Regions from separate parts of the Homo sapiens genome. Here all the other regions are linked to region 2. Evidence: promoter capture Hi-C in 16 types of primary human blood cells and fetal thymus (Javierre and others, 2016). All regions are on one chromosome and are shown on one strand. Each heading gives the region's core, a stretch centred on a gene start or on the middle of the fragment in contact. The rest is flanking DNA. Distances are from core to core; before and after follow the strand shown. Region 1 has its middle 4.3 kb from the start of GLUL. Region 2 holds the start of MR1 (major histocompatibility complex, class I-related). Region 3 holds the start of TOR1AIP2 (torsin 1A interacting protein 2). Region 4 holds the start of CEP350 (centrosomal protein 350). Region 5 has its middle 89 kb from the start of ZNF648. Region 6 has its middle 26 kb from the start of ZNF648. Region 7 holds the start of RNASEL (ribonuclease L).

Region 1 (2,884 bases), core at 3-2,502, 1.4 Mb before region 2:
GAAAAGAAAACAAGCCAGAAAGCCCAGGTAAAGCAAACAGCACAGTGTAAACACCCTAGACCTCCCTTAGGAGTGGGTTTATGCAACACTTTCTGTCCCCTACCCTGACCCCCATCTCCCCCGGGGGGTGAGAATCTGGCAGACTCTCAACTTCTGGCTGGGTCTTACATTTCTGGGCTCAGATCCAAAGCAAGAGCTGGGGATAAGACTTGTTTTTGACCAAGGCTTCTAAAGTTTGCCATTTCCCCTTTACTCTTGGTTCCTAGCCTTTTTTCAATTACTTTTCTTTGGGAGCCTTCCTTTTCTCTTTACCTCTCTTACACATTAATGGGAGGTGATGAAAAAGCACAAACACTTAGCTGCCTGTTTCCTGTAATGAGGCTTAATTCTATAACAATAAGCCTCTGGTAATCAAGTGATACCCCCCAACATAATAGCTTTCAAATATTCAGTGTAGGCAATAAGCCTGCATGTTATTAACTTACTAGATTTAAGATGTAACAGAAAGGTCCTCCCACTAAAGGCTACTCAAGAAAAAACTCAAAGCACTCAAGCTTTGGGGGAGTTTGTCATTCTCACAAAATTCCACAAGAGGGCACTAGGTTCACACCACCCCGGCCAAGCTTCTGATTCTCCAACCCCAGTAAACAAGTCTCCGGAGAACGGGTTTAAAAGAAGTGGAAGAGGAGAACGGACAGGAAAAATCCAGAAGCAGACTAAGAATTGCCCAAGCATCCAGAAAACATACCCTAGGGCTGTTTGTTTCCTGTTAAAATTTGGCGAGTCAATGTGAAATAAACAGGGATCCAAATTAACTAATGAGGTGGGAGGGGAGGGAGGAAGGGCTGTGGATCCCATTGAGGATTTCTTTGGGAATGGTACCAACTAAAGCACATACTCTGATCTAAATAATTTTTTGATCAGAATGCTAAATTCTCTAAATTTTTTAATTAGCTTCAATAATGTTCCAATCAATCTACAGAACAACGATCTGTACAGTGTAAATTGAGAATAAAGGACAAAATGTATCTAAAAAAACCCGATTCACAAAACAATGAAACTGGAGGCAGATTATCAGATGTGAAAAATGATCTCCAAAGAGTCCTTCAAAGAGAATCTTTCCTATGGTGTTGTTTTTTTCTGCTAATCTAGTTATTCACAAAGAAAATATATATTGAGTGTCTGCTATACAGAAGTCACTGGGTAAGCATACCCAGGATTGAGAGGTAAATGGTTGCTCCCTGTCCTCTGCACCTCCCTCAGTGAGGACTGTAGGAATTTCAGTATTTTAGAGATGGTGGCCCCGGAACAGATCACCCACAGACCAAAGCGACTAAAGGAAAGGGAACAGAAAAAGAACAGCACCTTGAAAGCTCATTAAGCTCTAAAATACTAACCAAACATGACTTCATCAAGTTACTATGAGTTATCTAAGCCTCAGTTCCTCATCTTTAAGATAGAATGATGTGAAGATCTAATTCTAGAATTGTATGGCTTTAATTTTCTCAATAGGACATTTTCCCCAGGTTGTTAACTAAGATGAACTTGATTCTTCCCAACTTTCCACGTAGTTTCCTGCTAGAGACATGATTCAGGGTAGAGCTCAAACAGACCCAAACCTTCCATCATAACACGCAGTTGGGGAAATGAAGTGTTCCTTGTATTTGACTGATTTCAGCACGCATCCTACAAAACTCAAATCAGGCTACAGATATGGCTGAGACGTGAATTTCCAATTTCCTGTCTTGAACTGAAGAATATCAAACAATCAAAAACTGTAAAGAACAATTCCTCCATTCTTAGTGCTAGTTATTGAACTGAAGTATAATGTAAATGTAGTCTTTCCTTCTCTAATTGTATAAAGTGAAATTTGAAAGCTTGGCCAACTACAGCTTTTCCCTAAATTATGGTTTAAGAATAATGCTATCAACTTCCAGAGCTATTTCTTTTCTTCTTCATTTTTATTATTATTATTTTGATTTGGTTTAAGATTCTACTATGGTCCATTCTTTTGGAAAGAACTGATGTTGGTTTATTACATAATAATAATTTTTAAAAGAATATTTTACAATTCTGGGTTGGGTTTCCAGGGTGTTCCCCAACCCTGAGTCTCAATTGTATCTCTTTAACATGATTTAAAGGTCTCACTGAATGCCTATTGAAATCATTCATACACAGGGAAAACTCCATTTCCTAAACAGAAAAGGTTTGGTCAATGTGAGCCCTACCCTAAATTTTGTGTCTAATGTGTATAAGGCAACCACACAGGCCCTGGGAAGGCACTCCAGATCCCCAGGTAAAGGACTTCATACTTGCAGAGTGAGAATGGATCCTTTAAAAGACAGAGAAAGGGCCGGGCACAGTGGCTCACGCCTGTAATCGCAGCACTTTGGGAGGCCGAGGCAGGCGGATCACAAGGTCAGGAGTTCAAGACAAGTCTGGCCAATATGGTGAAACCTCGTCTCTACTAAAAATACCAAAAAATTAGCTGGGTGTGGTGGCACACGCCTGTAATCCCAGCTCCTTGGGAGGCTGAGGCAGGAGAATTGCTTGAACCCGGGAGGCAGAGGTTACAGTGAGTGGAGGTTGCAGTGAGCCGAGATTGCGCCACTGCATCCAGCCTGAGCAACAGAGTAAGACTCCGTCTCAAAAAAAAAAAAAAAAAAAAAAAAAAAAAAGAGAAAAGTTGTTTCCTAATAGAGATAAGATTTGGGAGTAGAGCAAAATCCTAATACAAAGCTTTTATTTCAGGCAGCAGAACAACATTGAAGAAATACTTTTAATCTCAGGCTATTTCTGCAGATTTGGAACAAAATCTTTCCCTGTAATTGCTCTCCCACTCCACCCACCCCTTGGACATGGCAATTCTACTCTAAGAGAGAAA
Region 2 (3,178 bases), core at 216-2,715:
GGAAGCAGAGACTATGTTTGTCTTGTTCGCTGCCATATCCCCCAAAGTGCCTGGCACATAGTAGGCCATCAATCAATATTTGAACAATTAATATATGGATTTTTTTTTTTTGAGATGGAGTCTCACTCTGTCACCCAGGCTAGAGTGCAGTGGCATGATCTCGGCTCACTGCAACCTCCGCCTCCTGGGTTCAAGTGATTCTCCTGCCTCAGTCTCCCGAGTAGCTGGGATCACAGGTGCGCACTGTGCACAGCTAATTTTTTGTATTTTTAGTAGAGATGGGTGTGCCGAGCTAATTTTTTGTATTTTTAGTGAGATGGGGTTTCACTATGATGGCCAAGCTGGTTTCAAACTCCTGACCTCAAGCGATCCGTCTGCCTCGGCCTCTCAACGTGCTAGGATTACAGGTGTGAGCCACCACTCCCAGCCATATGATTTAAAATTTTTTTATTTGTATAAATTTATGATGTACACATGCAATTTTGTTATAGCATAGATTGTGTAGTGGTCAAGTTGGGGCTTTAAGGTATCCATCACCCAAGTAACACACATTGTACCCATTAAGTAATTTCTAATCATCCACCCCCCTCGCCCTTCCAAATCTCCATGGTCAGTCATTCCACTCTCTATGTGCATGGGTGATTTGAAAGAACTCCTTCCTCTCATGTTCATCAGTCACACCTATGGTGGTGGCCAAGTCTAAGTTCTGGACACTGCCCACCAGTACCAGTCCTCAGCCCAGGGAGCAAGTGATTAGGGCAGAGAAGCCTGGTGGTTCTAGCCCATGGGCCCTTTCCCCTATTTGAGGCAACAGAAGGCATTTGCTTCCCCAGTGACTTGAGCTCCCCGAATAATGAAAAACTCTCCCTTCTACTTGATTAATACTTCTCACAGTCAGTAAACAAACCCAGAGCCATGGTTTTATCTTTCTTGGATCTTTTATTACAGGTAGGGCTTGTGTTGAGGAAAAACATAAATAAACCTGAACAATGGATCTACTCCACTGTTAATGCCCCTGAAACTCTGACTACATCCTCATGAGACTCTGGAAGTTAGAAAAGAGGAGAAACAAAAGTAAAAGAAAAAATATGAGCAGAAAAGAAAGGAGGCCATGCTCAGAGGGAAAGTGAGGAAGTTCCAGAGTCTTTCTAGAACGGCTCCCCCTCCCTCAGAAGGTGGTGACATCAAAATCCTACAAATATGAACTGGGAAACTGTTCAGGCAATCCATTGCTCCTGGAGTCTGAGTGTAATACATACACGTTTCTGCCCCTGGCTTCTATATTTTTCACCACAAGTTTTAGGAAGAAAAGCTGTGCCTTCTAGGCTGCCTCGACTTTGGAGTTAGGAGAGAAGAGGACGTGGGATACTCACGGGAATCGCTGTGCTTCACCATTAACACAATGATGAGAGGTAACAGGAACGCCATCAGTTCCCCCATAGTCCTTCTCTTTCCGGGTTCTTTTAACCAAAAACTGACAGGTCCCTTCTGAGAACCTCTTGGTGACACACAAGGCCTTCTCCCAATAAGAACAGGGGAAGATATGCAGTGTCATCAGTTGCTAGGTTAAAAAAAAAAGATAAAATGAAAGCATGAACACCTTCTTCGGTAACTTTTAAGTCTTTGCTGGTTTCAGACACTGCTTGCTCCTTTTGGTGTATCTATCTTCACCCTATTCCCAATTTTTAAATATTTATGGAGCATAGTCATGTTCAAAGCACAGAGAAACAAAGATTAATCATATCTGGTCAATCAGGGAGCTCAAGCTGCTGCCTCTGCTTCCCTGGAGCTTAGAATTTTGCTTAAGGGTCAGTAAGAAAGAGTCACAGTTCCCACGGCTTGGAACTCCCTGCTCTGGCTCCCTATGATGCTGAAGTCTCTGTCTGAGATAGCAGGTGTCACTTAGATTGTCCCGTAATCTTCAACTTAGGTCTGTCCTCCCTGCTACTCTAGCACCCAGCACAATAAGCTCAAAACACTTACTGAATAAAAGAAGGCAAGAGAAAGGCCTACAGAAGATTCTGAGGGGCAGCCACTCAGCTTGCTCAATCAGCAATCCCCAAGATCAAGCTGTGGCTACACTGTCATAAGGAGCACATGACAAGCTGGAAAACAGCAGCTTAAGCTTGTCCAGGGAGCTAGGGAACAGGCCCAGACAGGAAAGAGGAAGTAGACATGAAGGGGAGAGGTGAATGGAGGCATGGCCATGAGGCAGGCAGGCTTGAGCTGGGTTCAGGGACCTGGGTTTGCCTCCCCACTATTTGACCATGGGCAGAATCCCAAATTGCACCAAGGCCTGATTTCTTCAACTTTAAAAGCAAATCCTGTCATATATTTCACAGAGTTGTTGAAGGATCAGAAGTTCTGTTTATGATGCATTTAGTAGGTAGTAGAACCTTATGTACCGGTTGTATGGTAGGTTGAGAATTGTCGCCCCAAAGATGTCCACAACCTAATTGCCAGAACCTGTGGATATATTACCTTAAATGGCAAAAACAAAATAAAACAAAACAAAACCCTTGGCAGATATGATTAAATTAAGGATCTTGAGACAGAGAGCTATCCTGGATTATCTGGTGGACCCAGTGTAATCAGAGGGGCCTTATTAGAGGGAGGCAAAAGGGTCAGAGTCAAGGAGATGTGACAATGGAAGCAAAGGTCAGAGTGATGATGCCATTGCTGAAAGAAGGACATGAGCCAAGGAACGCAGATGGCCTCTAGAACTAGAAAAGAGAAGGAACAGATTCTCCTTAGAGCCTCCAGAAGGAACACAACACTTTGATTTCAGCTGATAGGACACATTTTTGGACTTCTGTCCTCCAGAACTTTGAAAGAATAAATTTGCATTGTTCGAGGCCACTAAGTTGGTGGTAATTTGTTATAGCAGCAACAGGAAACTAATAGGTCTACCTTTACCCAGAATAAAATAAGAAGCCAAATAATGAAATTAACATTTGGCAATCTCTCAGCGGCCCCTGGCACCTTCTCTTCTCAGATCTTTGTATTTCTCTCTTCCTTTCCTTTCTGTTTCTTTACATTGTTTTTCCTTTTGTTACTCATTTAACAAATACAGTCACCTGGATTTCTCTTTTGGAAAACTCCCCCAATATTCCCAAATGTCTCTCAGCACTGGAATTCCATGGCCATGTATTTTTTCCTTTGAATTTTTGTTAATATC
Region 3 (3,038 bases), core at 123-2,622, 1.2 Mb after region 2:
GTGAGCCACCACGCCTGGCCAAAATAATTATTTTAAATGAAACATTTTAGAACAATAAATTTTTTGTACAGGAACTTTTTGCTTTAGGGTAAGCAGAAGTTCATTTATTTAAAGAGATAAATCTATCCGTTGTGACTTAGTAGTACAAATGAAGTAGGCAAACAATTTTAATAAGGAAAAGATGATTAAAATATTAAACAGGAGGAAGTTAATTAAAGACATAGTAGCTGGCTCCATTTATTCCCCAGTCTTACAAATGATAGAAAAATATTTTAATGACAATACAAATGAAAATTCCTGGAAATGTTATACTGAAATTAATTAAACACAATAAAGTGAATGGAATATAGTATTCTTTTTGTTGAATTAGGACTTGCAGTTAATTATTAAACACCATCCAAGAGTGTTACCAAATCCTGTCACTTCTGCCAAGAGAGGGTGATTGAGAAGTGAAGGCACCAAAAATCACATTAAATGAGGAATTATTAATTCAATAAATACTTGAGCTACTGTGTAGTAGGCAGTCCCTGTTCTCTGTGCTGGGGATACAGCAGTGAACAAAATAGACTAAAAGACAAAAAATGTTTCCTGCCTTCTTGGAGATTATATTCTATGGGAGGAGTCGGGCAAAAATCAAAATAAGTAAAATAGTGTGTTGGTCAGGACTGTTATGGGAAAAAAAAGAGGAAAGGGGAAGGGAGTTTTACATGAATAGATTTCTTCTTGAAATTTGGTTAGATTTGTCCTGAATTGCTGTAGGTCAAGAACAGGAATTTTAGACTTACTTCATTTTTCCCCCAACAAATTGTATGTTCTTGGGTAAATTGCTCGCCATCTCTTAATTTTCACATTTATAAAATTAGTAGATCAAAACAGCTATTTTTTGTCACTACTGTCATTTAACAGAAATGCTGCATACGTCATCTAATCTACTAATAACAAACTTATGAGGTAAGTAACGTTGTCCCCATTTGACACACGAGCAAACTGAGGTTTAGATTAGGCAACTCATTGGATTACATGCTCCTCTTAATGGCACAGAGGGTGTGTTCCAGGACATGGTGCTTGCCATTATCATTTGGTACTGCTGCTCACTGTGTTGGTCCTATGAGTTTCTTCAGTCTATGAATTTCAGGTCAGGGTGGTCGACGTCTTACAGAGATGCCTGTAATCCTGTCAGCATGAGATTGCATGGGACCTCTGCGGTTTGGTCGCGCATTTACCGCGCCTGTCGCTGGGTCAGACGACCTGGCAGTAGAGGGTGAAGGATGGAGAAGGCAGAAGGCAGGGCACGGAGACTACTAGTCCCAGGATTCCACGGGCGCCTTCCGGCGGAAAGTGTTTGTCATATGGGCGGGGACCCTGGACGACATTCGGGCCGCGGCGGCCGCTGGGTGCAGCCGAGCGGTGTGGAGCGGAGAGAATACTCGAAGGGCTCTCCTGATACTAACAGTTTTACGATTTAAAACTTCGCCAGAATTTGTAAGTAAACAAAATGACTATGCAGCTTTTCCATGTTTTAGTATTGAAACTGATATCTTGAATTTTTGAAAAGGACTTTCAGAAACGGTCCCTCCCCACCCCCACCTTCGTACCGCACAAATGGTATTTTTATTTTTATTGTTTTTGAGACAGGTACTTGCCCTGTCACCGAGGCTAGAGTACAGTGGCGTGATCATAGCTCACCACAGCCTCATACTTCTGGGCTCAAGGGATCCTCCCGCCTCAGCCTCCCAAGTAGCTGGAACTACAGGCCCGCACCACCATGCCCTACTAATTACTTTATTTTTTATTTTTATAGCGACAGGGTCTCACTGTATTGCCCAGGTTGGTCTCGAACTCCTGGCTTCAAGCGATTCTCCCACCTCAGCCTCCCAAAGTGCTGGGATTACAGGCGTGAGCCACCACGCCTGGCCTCACTCAAACAGTAAACGAGGTAGGTTGGGGGTATATTTTTGTTTTGGGATAAAAAGAAACTGAATCTTATAAATATTAAATGGGTTAAGATGTGAGTAAATTTTTGGGTTTAGACTTTAAGGTGAGAAGCCGAATTATTTTAGGGTTCGAAATGTGAGTGGGAAATTTGCCTACTAGTGTAGGCGGCGATTACTCCATTCCCAACATGCCTAGGTTCTCGACATTCATAATCTTAATCCTGAAAAGATAATACTTAAAAAAAAAAAAAATTGGTGCTAAAAAGGGCAAAGTTGAAGTTTTAGTAAGACCTCCTACCATTTTGCTTACATATTATATATGTACCATTCTCCCAATTGTATTTAATACCTGATGAAAAAGTTTGTGCCTTTTCCTTCTTTTAACAAATTTCATAGTACTCTCTACTTTATGAGTAATGCTTAATTATCAGACTTTATACTGTTACACAGATCCAGAAATGAGTTACATAGATTAAACATACTGGCTTTGTTTTACCTGTCTTTAGGTTTTAACACATTTTATTTTGGATCTGTATGAGAGATCCTTTCTTTGTTTTAAGCTGTGGCAGTTATCCATGTTTTTTGAGCTTTTTTTTTTGAGCACAAGATGAGGATATAAAAGGCCAGTGGAAACATTTAATAAAAAAAGGAACTTCATGGTAGAGTAACTACAGATGTTTTTGGAAGACTTTGTGTGGATTAGAATAGTTTGAAAAACTAACATTTGTTATGAAAACTGAGTGCCTGTCTTCAGTAATGTTTATTATGCTGAACGTGCAGTCCACAACTTGATTACCTGTTTTTCTGCTGGTTTGTTACGCAACCTTGCGTGACTCATTTAAGAACTATTTTATCTAGTTTCTTTCCTAATGTAGAGGTAATGCTAGCTTGAGAGCTTCAATAATTTATAAATAAATTAACTTCAGAATGTAGCTAATTATTTGAGGATTATTGGGTGTTTTAATAATGTATTGTATCTTGTATATAACTTATTTTTGCCTAAGAAGTAATTTCTGTATTCCATTCATTTCCATGGAACACAGAAGTCAAAATTCTATTCCAGGAAAGTCCACACTTCTTTGAAGTGCCACTTGAATTTCCTGA
Region 4 (3,156 bases), core at 368-2,867, 1.1 Mb after region 2:
ATGAAATTTTTTACATATACAACTTGCCATCTCTACATACACAAAATTTTGCTACTGAGGATGAAGAGATACAGAGATACACATGTATTTATCCACATATACAATGTATTCTAGCTTGAAGTTTATTTTCAGATTACAGTATCTTAAATTTAATGCACTGACAGTTCAAATGATTCAGATTTATTTCATTACATTAAATAAAATTTGTCAATTTAGCACACCGAAACTAATTATTATACGCCCATGGCTTTGAAGCAACTTCCAGCATGGGTCTAACAATCCCTCAAAGTCACAATTCCATGTCATTAGCAGTGCATTTCCTTGTTTAAAAACAATATATTAAACGAAGAAATTTTCAGAATGGAGGGCAACTTTTAGTATTTTATCATTGTTTCTACAGAACTTTTCAGATTGTTACTAGCTCTGCCAAAGATAGTCTTTCTTTTAAAACTCTTCAAATACAGGGCAGGAGGTATCGTTAACATGGCAACAATAACGACTTCCCCAAATTCAAAACAAGGATCACCATCAAAACAAAACAATCAGGTGGAGTACATGGATATTGATCACTATTTCTGACAACCTGTTTTTTCCCATATGAAGGATTTGCTACTGCATTAAAACATTAAAATCTATGCCTATGTGCAACTTTCTATCTGAATATTTAAAATCCAGGCAAATTCCAATTCATATCTTGTGACATTAGCTAAATATTACTTAGCATGTTGAGCTGCATTTAAAAGGCAGAGGAAAATACTGACAACTTCCAAAACATAAAGCCTTTTAAATCTTTCCCCAAATTATCTGTGAATAAACTACCTTCAGCAGCCGCTAGACTAGAGTAGATCAAAGTTTTCCCTATACTTGAGAATGTGATCCCCACTGAAAAGGAACAGAAACTGATCATCCCTGCCACTGGAGCCAGTCCCCGGAATCTCCCCAAATACGCCTGATCGCCAGATGAAGAAGGGACACTTCTCCGGGCAGCAAAGGCTAGAGGTATCTTACCTCTGCAGGCTAGAGGAGGGGTGGAGGAGGCGGGAGGACACTGGCACGTAAGGAAGGAAATTCCGTCTTCAGCAGGCACTGGTGGGACCCGAAACCTAGGTCCCCGAAAAGCCTCAGAACCCAGGGAGGTTCCCCGAGGGGGACGCCAAGCAGGGCCAAGACTCTCCGCGCCCGGCCCCGCCTCTCTTGCCGCCACCGGGGACCCGGGACCGCGGACAGAGACAGTTGAGGCTGAGCGAGACTCCGCGGTCCCAGCCAGGTCCTACAGGAGCTCACCTGAGAGTGTCGCCTCCGCCCTCGGCTACCACGGTGCATCCCGCGGAGCCTGGCGGAGGGTGCAGTGACGCCGCCCCGACCGGCCCCAGGGCTGCCCGGCCTGGCCTCCCCGCTCCGGGGACGCACCGGGTGCCCTCCTCGCACCGGCTCCGGGGATCCGCCGGTCCGCTGGGAAGGAAGACAAGGCGGAAAGGCTGCCTCCCCTCCCTCAGGGCAAGCCACCCCCCGAGCTGCGGCTCCCTGCAGTTCTCTCTGGCGCAGGTCTGGCCCCGCTCCCCGGCCCGGGAGTCACTTCGTCAGGGGCGGCCCAGTCGCCATTACAGCCCAACAACTGACACGGAGGAGGAGCGGCGCCAGCGGCAGCGGCTGTGGCGGCGGCGCGAGGCAGGGCGGGAGCAGTCGGGCCCAGGCAAACCTCGCGAGAACTGTCCCGAGACAGTGCCACAGGCATGCCAACCTTCGGTTAGGGCCATGTTGAGTGTGGCCGAAAGGTGGGAGCGAAATAAAACAAGGAGCAGAACCGCGAAGAAGCCATGTTTGGTGCGTCGAAGTTTAAACTCGTAGGACTTGGGAGGAGCCAAGGTATATCCGCAGAAGAGACCACCCCTGCCCTTTCGCTTTGACGCTCATTGGGCCTTTTGGCTGCGCATTTCACCCCGGGCTGAGAAAACAAGCTGGGGATTCGACAAGAATGAACTCAAAGTCTGGAAACGGCAGCTTCTGAGAGTTTACAATGTTTCACCAACTGTCGTCCAAATAAGTCGTCACCCCTGTCAGAGTAGTTGCAGCTCTGCCGTTACCCACTGCTGTCACTGTGGCCGTTTTATTCGCGAGGGTTACAGTTCTGTTTAGCATGCATCTAATGACTTAAGACTCCACGCAAGTAAAACGGAGTTTCCTCCCATTAAGTATTGGCTTTGCTTTAACAGTGCTTTGAGAGGCTCTCTGTGGCCAACATATCTTCTCATATCTTTGTCCTCGTTTCCCAATCTCCGCGTGGTGAAATCATCTATCAAGACTTGGCTTAAAGGACCTCTCTTCTGCAAATAATGCCATCTTCCGCTAGGTGCTCACTGCACACAGACTCGCCGCCCACCACTTCTGTCCACCTTCTGAACTCCGATAGTTATTTACCCAGAGACTGTTTCTCATCTTTAAGTGTCGTGAAGACTTTAAGATCTGTTTTATCTCTCTATACCCCAAAATGGCCTAGCACAGTAACTAGGACATTGTAGGTGCTCAATAAATGTTTGTCGAATATCAATGACAGCAGGAGGCAGTAAATGGTCCCTCTTTGTAGGGCCTACAGCTGTGCCTGAGTAGGATGTACAGAAGTCCTGCATACGTGTGAAGTGTCTCCAGGAAGCTGCACTGGAGGGGACAGGAAATGTGGGTAATCGTATGGTGCAAGTGGTAGCAAAAAAGACAACATAAGGAAAATGTTATTTAGGTTTTGCCCAGTCTTGCTGTTTAAAGCCCTGTGTTAGATGCTTTTCATGCGCTATTTTACTGAATGTAAACAACCACCTTATTAAATATACTCACTTTTTTAAAACGAAGAAACACGTACTGGCCGGTCACAGTGGCTCACGCCTGTAATCTCAGCACTTTGCGGGGCCGAGGCGGGTGGATCACGAGGTCAGGAGTACAAGACCAGCCTGGCCAAGATGGTGAAACCCCGTCTCTACTAAAAATACAAAAATTAGCCGGGCGTGGTGGCGGGTGCCTGTAATCCCAGCTACTCGGGAGGCGGAGGCAGGAGTATCGCTTGAACCTGCGAGGCGGAGGTTGCAGTGAGCCGGGATCGCACCACTGCACTCCAGCCTGGGCAACAGAGTGAGACTCCATCTCAAAAAAATAAAAAAAAAGAAA
Region 5 (2,945 bases), core at 80-2,579, 1.1 Mb before region 2:
CAAATAGCTGGAATTACAGGCACCTGCCACCACACTGGGCTAATTTTTGTAATTTTAGTAAAGACGGGGTTTCACTATGTTGGCCAGGCTTGTCTTGAACTGCTGACCTTGTGATCCTCCCACCTCGGCCTCCCAAAGTGCTGGGATTACAGGCGTAAGCCACCGTGCCTGGCAGTCCAAGAGTTTAATTGATTCAAAGCTTGGGTTTGGGATTCAGACAGATCTGGGTCCAAGTCCTGTTCTATAGCATGCAAGATAGGTGACATTGAGCAATTATAGGTGAGCCTTGACTAATGCAGGGATTAGGAGCACTGACACCCAGTGCAATTGAAAATTCATCCGTGTATAACTTTTGAGTGGCCAAAAACTTAACTACTGATATCTACCATTGCTTGGAAACCTTACCTATAACCAGAAACAGATGATTAACATGTATTTTGTATGCTATATGTACTATACTGTCTTATTACAATAAAGTAAGCTAGAGAAAAGAAAATATTATTAAGAAACTCATGAGGAGAAAATACATTTATAGTACAGTACTGTAGGTATTGTTACTGTAAGTTTATGTTGTCTGTTTCTAAGATGAGTCCTCCATCTGAAATGGCAGATGCCACAGCTGCAGACCTCAGTCTATGGTACATATCAAGCAATTCAACTTCTTCTAGGAATGTCATGACTTTTCTCTATTTTTTGGGAGCACTTCCAACATTATTAGTGGCACCTCATATAAGTCCCACAGTGTTACTCAAAGTTTATAGGAATGCACTAAACATGATGAAAAATAAGTGAGAACCAATTTACTGGAGAGACAAACTGCTCACTCTAGATGATCAGCATCACACAGTGTTTTAAGTGGATACTCATGATATTGGAGCTCACTGCAATAGCAGCAGGGGGTGACTCCAAACGGTTAACTTTATGCAGTGACAACTTAATACTACATCTTTATGTTTGTTTGGATTTCTCTTGACTGCAAATGGCACTGGTCTGTAAGTGTGTGTGTAAATTTTGATAAATTTTAACTTATTTTTACAGATTTGTATATTTTATGGTAGTAAATGATAAAATAGACTAACATCTTTTTATTCTTTATGTATTTGTGACATAACCTTTTCTTAATTTTTTGATATTTTTAGGCTACACCGTTGGTCTGTGAGTTTTTTTCAAATTTTCACAAATCTCCAAACAATATTCCAATATATTTGTTGAAAAAAATTCACCTGTAAGTTAACCCATGCAGTTCAAACTTGTCCAAGGGTGATCCGTGCTTTATCTAAGTTCCCTACTTGTTTGTAAACTGTTGATGATGATATCCACCCCTCAGGATTGTTTTGAGAACAACCATAGTAAGGAAGCAAATGCTTGAGAAGTGGTTAGCAGAATGTCAGCACCATGTAGCAGATGTTGGCTGTTGTTATTGCCTGATTTGGATGGACCATGGGCCCAATTTGAGGTGACATTTCCTTTGGTCTAAATTTAGGGTTTCAAAGGAGTAAGTATGTCAGTGCCTGCCTTCATGAGGGATCCTAATGAGCATGCATGTTGTATGTCACATAGCAACATACCCAAGGACTGTCCCTCTGTGTACTTGTAGCATTGAGTGGCCTGGGTCACAAGTGAGTTTGATTTTAGGTATCTAAAGTCTTCAACTGTCAAGTTCAAAAATCCACACAAGACTAATCCTGTCTTGTTCCCAGGGCTGGGCTAAGACTTAGAGGTTTTTCAGGGCAAGAAATGAATAAATTAGCTGTAAGAATGTCAGGGCCAGGCTAAAACAACATGGTCTGAGGGAATGTGATATTGAGCTGGGATTGAAATCACAGGGAGCCATGGCTGGTCTATGCAAAAAAAGAAAGTTAAAATTGCTTGTAGGGGAAAAATACCAAAACACACAGCTTTCAGGAGTCAAGGCAAACAAGGAGAGTAATGGCCTAGTAAGAGAGAGGCCATGAGGAACCTACCTGGAAAGACTGAATGGCCAAACTAGAGGCCATGAGGATCCTATCTGGGAAGATTGAATTCAAAGCTGAATTCTTGAGCCAATAATTTACCCAAAGCTGGGCCGTGAGGGCCAGTCTCAAGAAGCTCTAAAGAAATGCAGTGGACAGAGAGTGGGAAGTTAACTACAGTGACTCAGCAGGGCTTGATTCAGCCGTCCCTTCCCCTTTGCAGACTGCTTTTGTCATGTGTTAGGTGATGTATGTTGTAATGGAGCAAGGATGTTGCCACCATGGCAACGTGAAGTCAGAGCTCTTCTGAGCTCATTTCTCGGAACCACTTCCCCCTTCCCTTGACGAGCTTTCTCATGGAGCCCTCTGTTACCAGTCTTTCAGAAGCACCTCCACAGAGATCTTCTGTCGTCAGATGCTCCTATCAAAGACAGCTCCTCCTCTTCTTCTGTCTTCCTCTAAAACCTAACCCCAGGTTCCCCTCAAAGGCTTCTTCCTGAAGCTTCTCCTGAGTTCACATATCTCTGTTATTTTGAAAAGAAACCCCAGTACTCAGTAACAGTCAAGATGTGAAAGAAATGAGACTGAATCAGAACAAAGTTGGACCTCGGATAGTGAACAATAATCACAACCTCCAATCTTCCTTTAGTATGAAAGCTCTGGTCTCTGAAGTCCCTCTCCAAGGTCACTGCCTGGTAAGGGTGGCAAGGGCTGACATAGGTCTTAGGTCCTTCCTAGCAACCTGGCTGTGCGTGGGAAGGAATGCAAGTGTTTTCTTACTCTCGTACATCTTTGCTGTATCTCTTAGTTTTCGTCCACTCCTGCCTCTTGTCCCTGCATGTTTATCTCCCTGCCAGCAGCCCTCCACCTTTAGAGCTTTCCCTAATAACCTGAGGACTTCCAGAGTGAAGCAGGAATAGGGAGGCAGTGAGATGTAATAGGAAGATCTTCCCAGAGCTGAGATGTCCCAGGTGTTCAATGAAATATTTTGGG
Region 6 (3,193 bases), core at 480-2,979, 1.0 Mb before region 2:
ACCCATGGCTGGGCTCAGCTTTAAAAGGTCTTACCAGAGATTCCTTGTGGAACAGTTCCACCAAAGCCAATCTAAAAGGCCTATGTAGAAATAATTATTCTTGTTGCACTTTATGCAAATAATCAGGCCAAGTATAAGACTAACATCTATTTCGTAAATAATGCAGTCCTATCCTGATTTGTTTTTAACATAAATGAGGACTAAAGAAAGAGAAATTATATTTTAAAACTTACACATTTATCATTAAATTCTAGACTCATTAGTTGTTTTTAAATTTTTGCCTACATTTTAAACTAACTCTGTTTATTCCTATAAACCGACCAGTGATCTCCAGCTGCAGCTCAGAGGGAACAAGAGGGATAGGTGATATAAAAATCTGGATCGATATTCTAGTTCTGAGCAATTATCCTGCAATTCCTGCCAGGTGATGGGAATAAATAGGGTGCCCATAACCCGGAGGTTTCCTTTTTGGGAAAGTAAGACCAAGAGAGCTAACCAAAGCCAAGCCCCATGCATTCCAAACCTTAGCAAGCATATCTATAGTCACCAATTATCTGGATGTCCTTTTCTCTCCCTTGTTGGAGGAGGACTCAATCCCACAGCTTCATTGTAGCATTCGGCTTATGATAAGGAATCCATGCAATGCCCCAGAGACACACTCAATTCCAGGCTCGGGTAAAAGCCCTAGGAAAGAAAACTGGATCTGAGGGATCCAGAGGCAGACAATAGCAGAAATTAAAAGGCACAGCACAGGTGAACATGACTAATTCCTGCCGATTAAACCAAGCTTCCGGTTTCATGGATAAAAGTCATGCTAGTATCCATGGCATAAGTGAGGTCTAAGGAATTCAAAGGCTACTGACAGCAGGGTAGATAGGGCATATGTAGGTAAGAGCAGATACTCCCACACCATCCTGGTCCCCCTGATAAAATGGGTGAAAGCCGCTTTGACACCCATGGGTGGCACCCTGTCATGGTTACTGGGACTTGGGGATACAAAGAGCAATGCCCCACTTTCTCTCCCTCATGTACCCTGAGTATTTTCCAGGGAAAGAAAGGAAGCAGGGACACCTGCTTCTCTCTTTCTAGATGAGTAGCCATTTATCTTCAGTCTGTATCCCTTTCAAATGCATCCTGAACCCCTGAGAGTCCTCTGAAAAAAATGCCTTCTTTTTTCCTTTTTCTTCCTCTGTCCTCTCTTCATTGAAAAGTAATTGTGTCTTCATACTACAGGAAACTCCCCTTGGATGCATCCTCCAAACTGGAAAAAGTTAATTTCCCAAACCTTAAACTCATTGGCATAGGATTGGGCTTGGGGAAAGGGAACCCAGAAGCCTGAGATGCTGGCACAAGGGTAAAAGTTTTTTTTTCCAGTTGGGCTTTTGGCCTCCTTCTCCCAGTGCAAACTGGTAAAAGGCCTTAGGATTTTTGAGCTGTCCTTACTCACCTTGTTTCGTTTTAATACATATTTTCTAACAACCTGATTTGTTTCTTCTCGCCTCAGGCCATCAAACTCTAAAAGGTCATGCATCCAGAGCCTCGGATGATGGCCCCTTTTGCCAGAAACCGTTATATAGGCCTTTGAGGGAGATCTGACTGCCGTAGTCCCAAAACAGCGCCCCCTGTCAGCAGGAGGCAGTTAAGATTGTCTTACTGTCCTTATCCTTATCTTTAACCCTTATCCTTATCCTTATCCTTATCCTAACAGCAGTTAGATGTACTTCTTTAGAAGGGGGAATGATAGAGACAGGAGACAGCCAAGGGTCCCTGGTGAAAGCCCACCTTCAAGCCTACAACAGCCTGAAGGCTGAAGAACTGGACTGCTAGTCCCGGAAAAAGCACACCCTTTCCTGACTGATTCTCTCTGAATAATGGCCACCTGTGCTCTGGGGGAAGGGAGTGGAGCCAGAGGAAATCCCTGCATGGGGAGGAGCCTGGCCTCTTCATTTCCTGTGTGGTGGCCTGGGATTCAATCTGTAAGGTGGGGGGCCTGCTAGCAGGACTCTCTCTCACTTTACTGAGAGTTCCTCTTGCCTTTTTTCCTTTTCACCCAATAAACACAGCCCTATTCACCCTACAATGTGTCTGCATGCCTAAATTTTCCTGGTTGTGTGACAGGAGCCTAGCTTTTTCTACAACAGAGGGAAGGGAGGAAAGAAAAGAGGGAGATAGACAAAGAGAAAAAAAGGCAACTGCAGCAAACTGTTATTAATTGGTGAATCTAGGTGGAGGTTATACAGGATGTCATTGTATTATTCTAACAACTTTTCTGCTAGTTTGAAATTTTTTCAAAATAAAATGTTAAAAGTACATATTTACATCAAGTGTTGGTAAGGATGTGGAGAAATGGAAATTTTCATACTCTGATAAAAGGAATGCAAATTATTGGTACAGTTCTTGGAGAGTAATATAATGATGTTTAATATTACATTGATATAATACTATTAATACAGTATGATGATGATGATATGATAGTAGTATCAGTAATCATCAATATATCTATACCTTATACCTTAGCAATTCAAATGGGATATGGGAAGAAAATAGTAGAATTTTGTACTTATCTTTTAAGAAAAAATTTACATTTGATAATGGGTATTACATGTTAATACAATAGGACATTTATATAATTTATAAATAGAGACATATTGAGGATAAGCAGTTAAGCTTTTTTATTGATGAGGCAACACAATCAGCATAGCAGGAGACCACTCCCCCTTAAGAAATTTAAGTATACATGAGGAGATTATAAATATATGTAAGAATATTAATTGCAGCATAATTTGTAATGGCAAAACTTTGGAAACATTTTAAATATTCATCAGTAAAAGAATACATAAATCAATTGTGTTTTATTAATATAATGGGATGTTAAATAGCAGTTAAGATGAATGAAGCGAAGCTGTAAGTACAGGTTTAGAAAATGTTGAGTGAAAAAACCAAGTCACAGAACCATAAGTCTATTCATATAAATTGTCTTATTCATTTGGCTGTTCCAACAAAGTACCATAAACTGGATGGCTTATAAACAACAGAAATTTATTTCTCACAATTCTGAAGGCTTGGAAGTCTAAGATCAGGGCACCAGCAGAGTCAGGGTCTGGTGAAGGTCCTCTTCCAGGTTGCAGACTGCTGCTGACTTCTAATTGGATCATGACACGGCAGAAGGAGAGCTAGCAGTTCTTGGACCTCT
Region 7 (2,772 bases), core at 183-2,682, 1.6 Mb before region 2:
GTTGGCTCACTTCAACCTCCACCTCCCGGGTTCGAGCAATTCTCCTGCCTCAGCCTCCCGAGTAGCTGGGATTACAGGTGCACAACACCACACCTGGCTACTTTTTGTATTTTTAGTAGAGACGCGGTTTCACCATGTTGGCCAGGCTGGTCTTGAACTCCTGAACTCAGGTGATCTGCCTGCCTTGGCCTCCCAAAGTGCTGGGATTACAGGTGTGAGCCACCACGCCTGTCCAACAAGTATTAATTAAATGAATAATGGGTTAAGGATTTTTGAACTTTGTCCTGAAAATGATGGTGGGTCAATGATGCAGGGTGGAACAATGGATGAAGGGCTAGGAAGCAAGTCATCAATTTCTTGCTATAAATGATGACAAGGACTCGAATGGTCATCCCTTTGTAGATGAAAGCAAGAGACTTGGTGTTGGGATGAGGATGAGGGGTGGCCTCCGGGTGATGGTGCCATCTGTGGAGATGGAATAAGTGGGAGGAGGGGCAGATTTAGGAAAAGATGAGTATTTCCATTTGACACATATTCAAGATTTGTAGGTCTAAAGCTCAGCAGAGAGGCTGGGGTTAGAGAGCGAGGCCTGGGAATCCCTGGTGTATAAGGGGTGGTAGAGGCCCCGGGTCTGGATGGTGTGACACAGGTGGTCGTCAAGTGACCATGCACTACTTGTTGTTCACAAGTCCCAGGGCTTTGTCTCCCCAGCAAGACTGGGTATTCTTTGGGGATGGAAATACTTTCCACTACAGCACTAAGTACACAGTACACAGCTCATTGCTAGGAAGATAGTCAAGAACAGAACTTGTAGAGCAGAAAGGAACCTTCAAAACCAAGTTATAGGAGAGAACTGAGGCCCTACATGGTTAAATCACATGCCTGAGGTCACTCAGCTAAGCAGCCACAGAGCTGGCTGTAGGATCAGGTCTCCAGACTGCCAGTCCGGTACCCTTCTGAGAAGGCCGCACTGCCTCAGAGCTGTGAGTTGAGTGAGCTGAGAAAGGTGACAGGGCTTGGGCTTTGGGCTTACTTAGCTTCTATGAGCCTGCGTTTCATAATCAACAAGATTGTCAGGGGTTAACTGGGACCATGCTGCATGTAAAGCATTGTGTCTGGAACACAATAGGTGCTCAATATGTGTTTACTTTCCATTCCTTTCTTCCAAGAAGACCAGAATTTGCAATGACAAAGAAAGGATGCAAGAGTGATGGATGCAGTTGGCTGCTGCCACCTGAAAGGCTGCAAGACTGAGAGGTGAGTGACATGACCCCGGGCATCACATTCCTCATCAGCAGACAGAAAGTGGCTATTGCTTTCCTCCAGAAGGTGTGCAAGTAGAAGCTTTGCTCCTGGTGCCAGAGTGAGCCTGTGGCTGCTTTCCCTCCCACACTCCTCACTCCTTTCTTGGCTCCGCCCTGCTGACTCAGTGACGCAGCAGGAGGAAACTGCTCGGGCTGCAAGCAGTCTTCCAGGCTTTGCGGCTGCCAAAGGAATAATTGAGACGTCTGAGTTGAGCAGGTAAGGCAGGCAGAAGGAGGAAAGCTAGAAAACCTCGATAAGTCGATCCTGAAGAATTCTTGGGCTTTGGAGACTGGAGAGGCCAGGGGCTGGAGGACTTGGGAAGTGGGAGGGGAGCTCCCAGCCCTTGGCTGCCCGGAAGGATCTTCCTCCAGTGCCCTTCCAGAGTTCTGTCAGAGTCCACACGTCATTTATCCATGTCCTCAGTTTCTCAGGCATCTCTTTGCGACTTACTCAGGTCGCACAGAGAAAGTGAAATTGAAAGCAGGATTGTCTGTTGGAGTACTTCCGCAGGCTCGTCTCTTCTCTACTCTGATGCGTCACTCAGGGCTTCCTTGATATTTCCTCTCCTTCCCGGCTCCTTTGTTTATACCAGCCCACCTCACATCTGATTGTAATGGGGACGGTCTACACAAACACTTTGGTTCAAAGATTTCATTGCCTGGTGATCGTGTATGTGTTGCACAATTAATTAAACTTCTAAGAGGCTAATCAATTAACCTCTGAGGCTTTGAAACTGTCAGAGTGGTGAGATTGCTGAAAAAGGGTTGCTTCGTGAATTCTATAGCAGATGCAGTTATTTAAATATTCAGGTAACAGTTTCGGGCTGTCTGATGATTGAACTGGATCTGTAATTCTCAGATCTGATTGACAGTTGGACGAAATTGATAGCTGCCAGTTGCCTATTCGTGTAGTAGCTATATGCACATGTGTAGGGAGAATAGAATTCACTAAGCAATTTATTTTTTCATAACGGGATATAATTAGCTCTAACATTCATTGAGTGGCTAATATTTGCAACACTCCATACTTTAATGTACTTTACACACATGACTGTATTTATTTTTGTCTCCATTTCAGGAAATAGAAAATTGAGATTCAACAATCCAAGGTTACAGGAAGTAATAGTAAAAAATTACACAGCCACAAGCTCAAACTTAGATCTCCCTAAGGTCAGAGTACAAGCTCTTTTCACTACTGCAGATACTCCTTGACTTATGATGGGGTTACATACAGATAAACCCATCCTAAATTGAAAATATTGTAGGTCAAAAGCACATTTAATACACCTAATCTACTGAACGTCATAGCTTATCCTAGCTTACCTTAAATGTGCTCAGAACACTTACATTAGGCTACAGTTGGGCAAAATCATCTAGCTCAAAGCTTATTTTATAATAAAGTGTTAAATGTCTCATGTATTTATCGAATGCTATGCTGAAATAAAAAACAGAATGGTTGTATGTGTAC

Evidence for each region. The method cuts DNA at HindIII sites, captures the fragments that hold promoters and counts their contacts. A CHiCAGO score of 5 or more calls a contact.
Region 1: a contact is called between a fragment that was not itself captured here and the fragment with the promoter of MR1 in region 2, in 2 of 17 cell types (fetal thymus and M0 macrophages). The highest score is 5.4, in fetal thymus.
Region 3: the fragment with the promoter of TOR1AIP2 here is called in contact with the fragment with the promoter of MR1 in region 2 in 6 of 17 cell types (fetal thymus, total CD8 T cells, naive B cells and 3 more); the score reaches 8.4 in fetal thymus.
Region 4: a contact is called between the fragment with the promoter of CEP350 here and the fragment with the promoter of MR1 in region 2, in 13 of 17 cell types (naive CD8 T cells, activated CD4 T cells, total CD4 T cells and 10 more). The highest score is 14.4, in naive CD8 T cells.
Region 5: a fragment that was not itself captured here is called in contact with the fragment with the promoter of MR1 in region 2 in 1 of 17 cell types (M1 macrophages); the score reaches 6.8 in M1 macrophages.
Region 6: a fragment that was not itself captured here is called in contact with the fragment with the promoter of MR1 in region 2 in 1 of 17 cell types (naive B cells); the score reaches 5.3 in naive B cells.
Region 7: the fragment with the promoter of RNASEL here is called in contact with the fragment with the promoter of MR1 in region 2 in 2 of 17 cell types (total CD8 T cells and total CD4 T cells); the score reaches 6.2 in total CD8 T cells.

Annotation. Positions count from the first base shown.
Region 1 is chr1:182,394,617-182,397,500 of GRCh38, reverse strand. No RefSeq gene overlaps it. Among named protein-coding and RNA genes, the nearest start is that of GLUL, 4.3 kb to the right of the region's middle. The HindIII fragment of the contact is 1,254 bases long and covers 626-1,879 here.
Region 2 is chr1:181,032,270-181,035,447 of GRCh38, reverse strand. MR1 (major histocompatibility complex, class I-related) reads right to left here and starts at 1,465. Exons shown (of 6, transcript NM_001385161.1): 1 at 1,374-1,465. The coding sequence starts at 1,440. RefSeq lists enhancers at 1,556-1,665, 1,796-1,895, 2,096-2,285. The HindIII fragment of the contact is 2,248 bases long and covers 1-2,127 here.
Region 3 is chr1:179,876,137-179,879,174 of GRCh38, reverse strand. TOR1AIP2 (torsin 1A interacting protein 2) reads left to right here and starts at 1,372. Exons shown (of 7, transcript NM_001199260.2): 1 at 1,372-1,482; 2 at 1,802-1,936. RefSeq lists an enhancer at 1,038-1,397. The HindIII fragment of the contact is 9,006 bases long and covers 1-3,038 here.
Region 4 is chr1:179,953,271-179,956,426 of GRCh38, reverse strand. It overlaps CEP350 (centrosomal protein 350), which reads right to left and starts at 1,617. Exons shown (of 38, transcript NM_014810.5): 1 at 1,285-1,617. RefSeq lists a silencer at 1,183-1,632 and an enhancer at 1,420-1,921. The HindIII fragment of the contact is 10,111 bases long and covers 1-3,156 here.
Region 5 is chr1:182,148,850-182,151,794 of GRCh38, reverse strand. No RefSeq gene overlaps it. Among named protein-coding and RNA genes, the nearest start is that of ZNF648, 89 kb to the right of the region's middle. The HindIII fragment of the contact is 2,255 bases long and covers 202-2,456 here.
Region 6 is chr1:182,034,004-182,037,196 of GRCh38, reverse strand. No RefSeq gene overlaps it. Among named protein-coding and RNA genes, the nearest start is that of ZNF648, 26 kb to the left of the region's middle. The HindIII fragment of the contact is 1,880 bases long and covers 790-2,669 here.
Region 7 is chr1:182,587,916-182,590,687 of GRCh38, reverse strand. It overlaps RNASEL (ribonuclease L), which reads left to right and starts at 1,432. Exons shown (of 7, transcript NM_021133.4): 1 at 1,432-1,521. RefSeq lists an enhancer at 1,557-1,716. The HindIII fragment of the contact is 1,344 bases long and covers 1,347-2,690 here.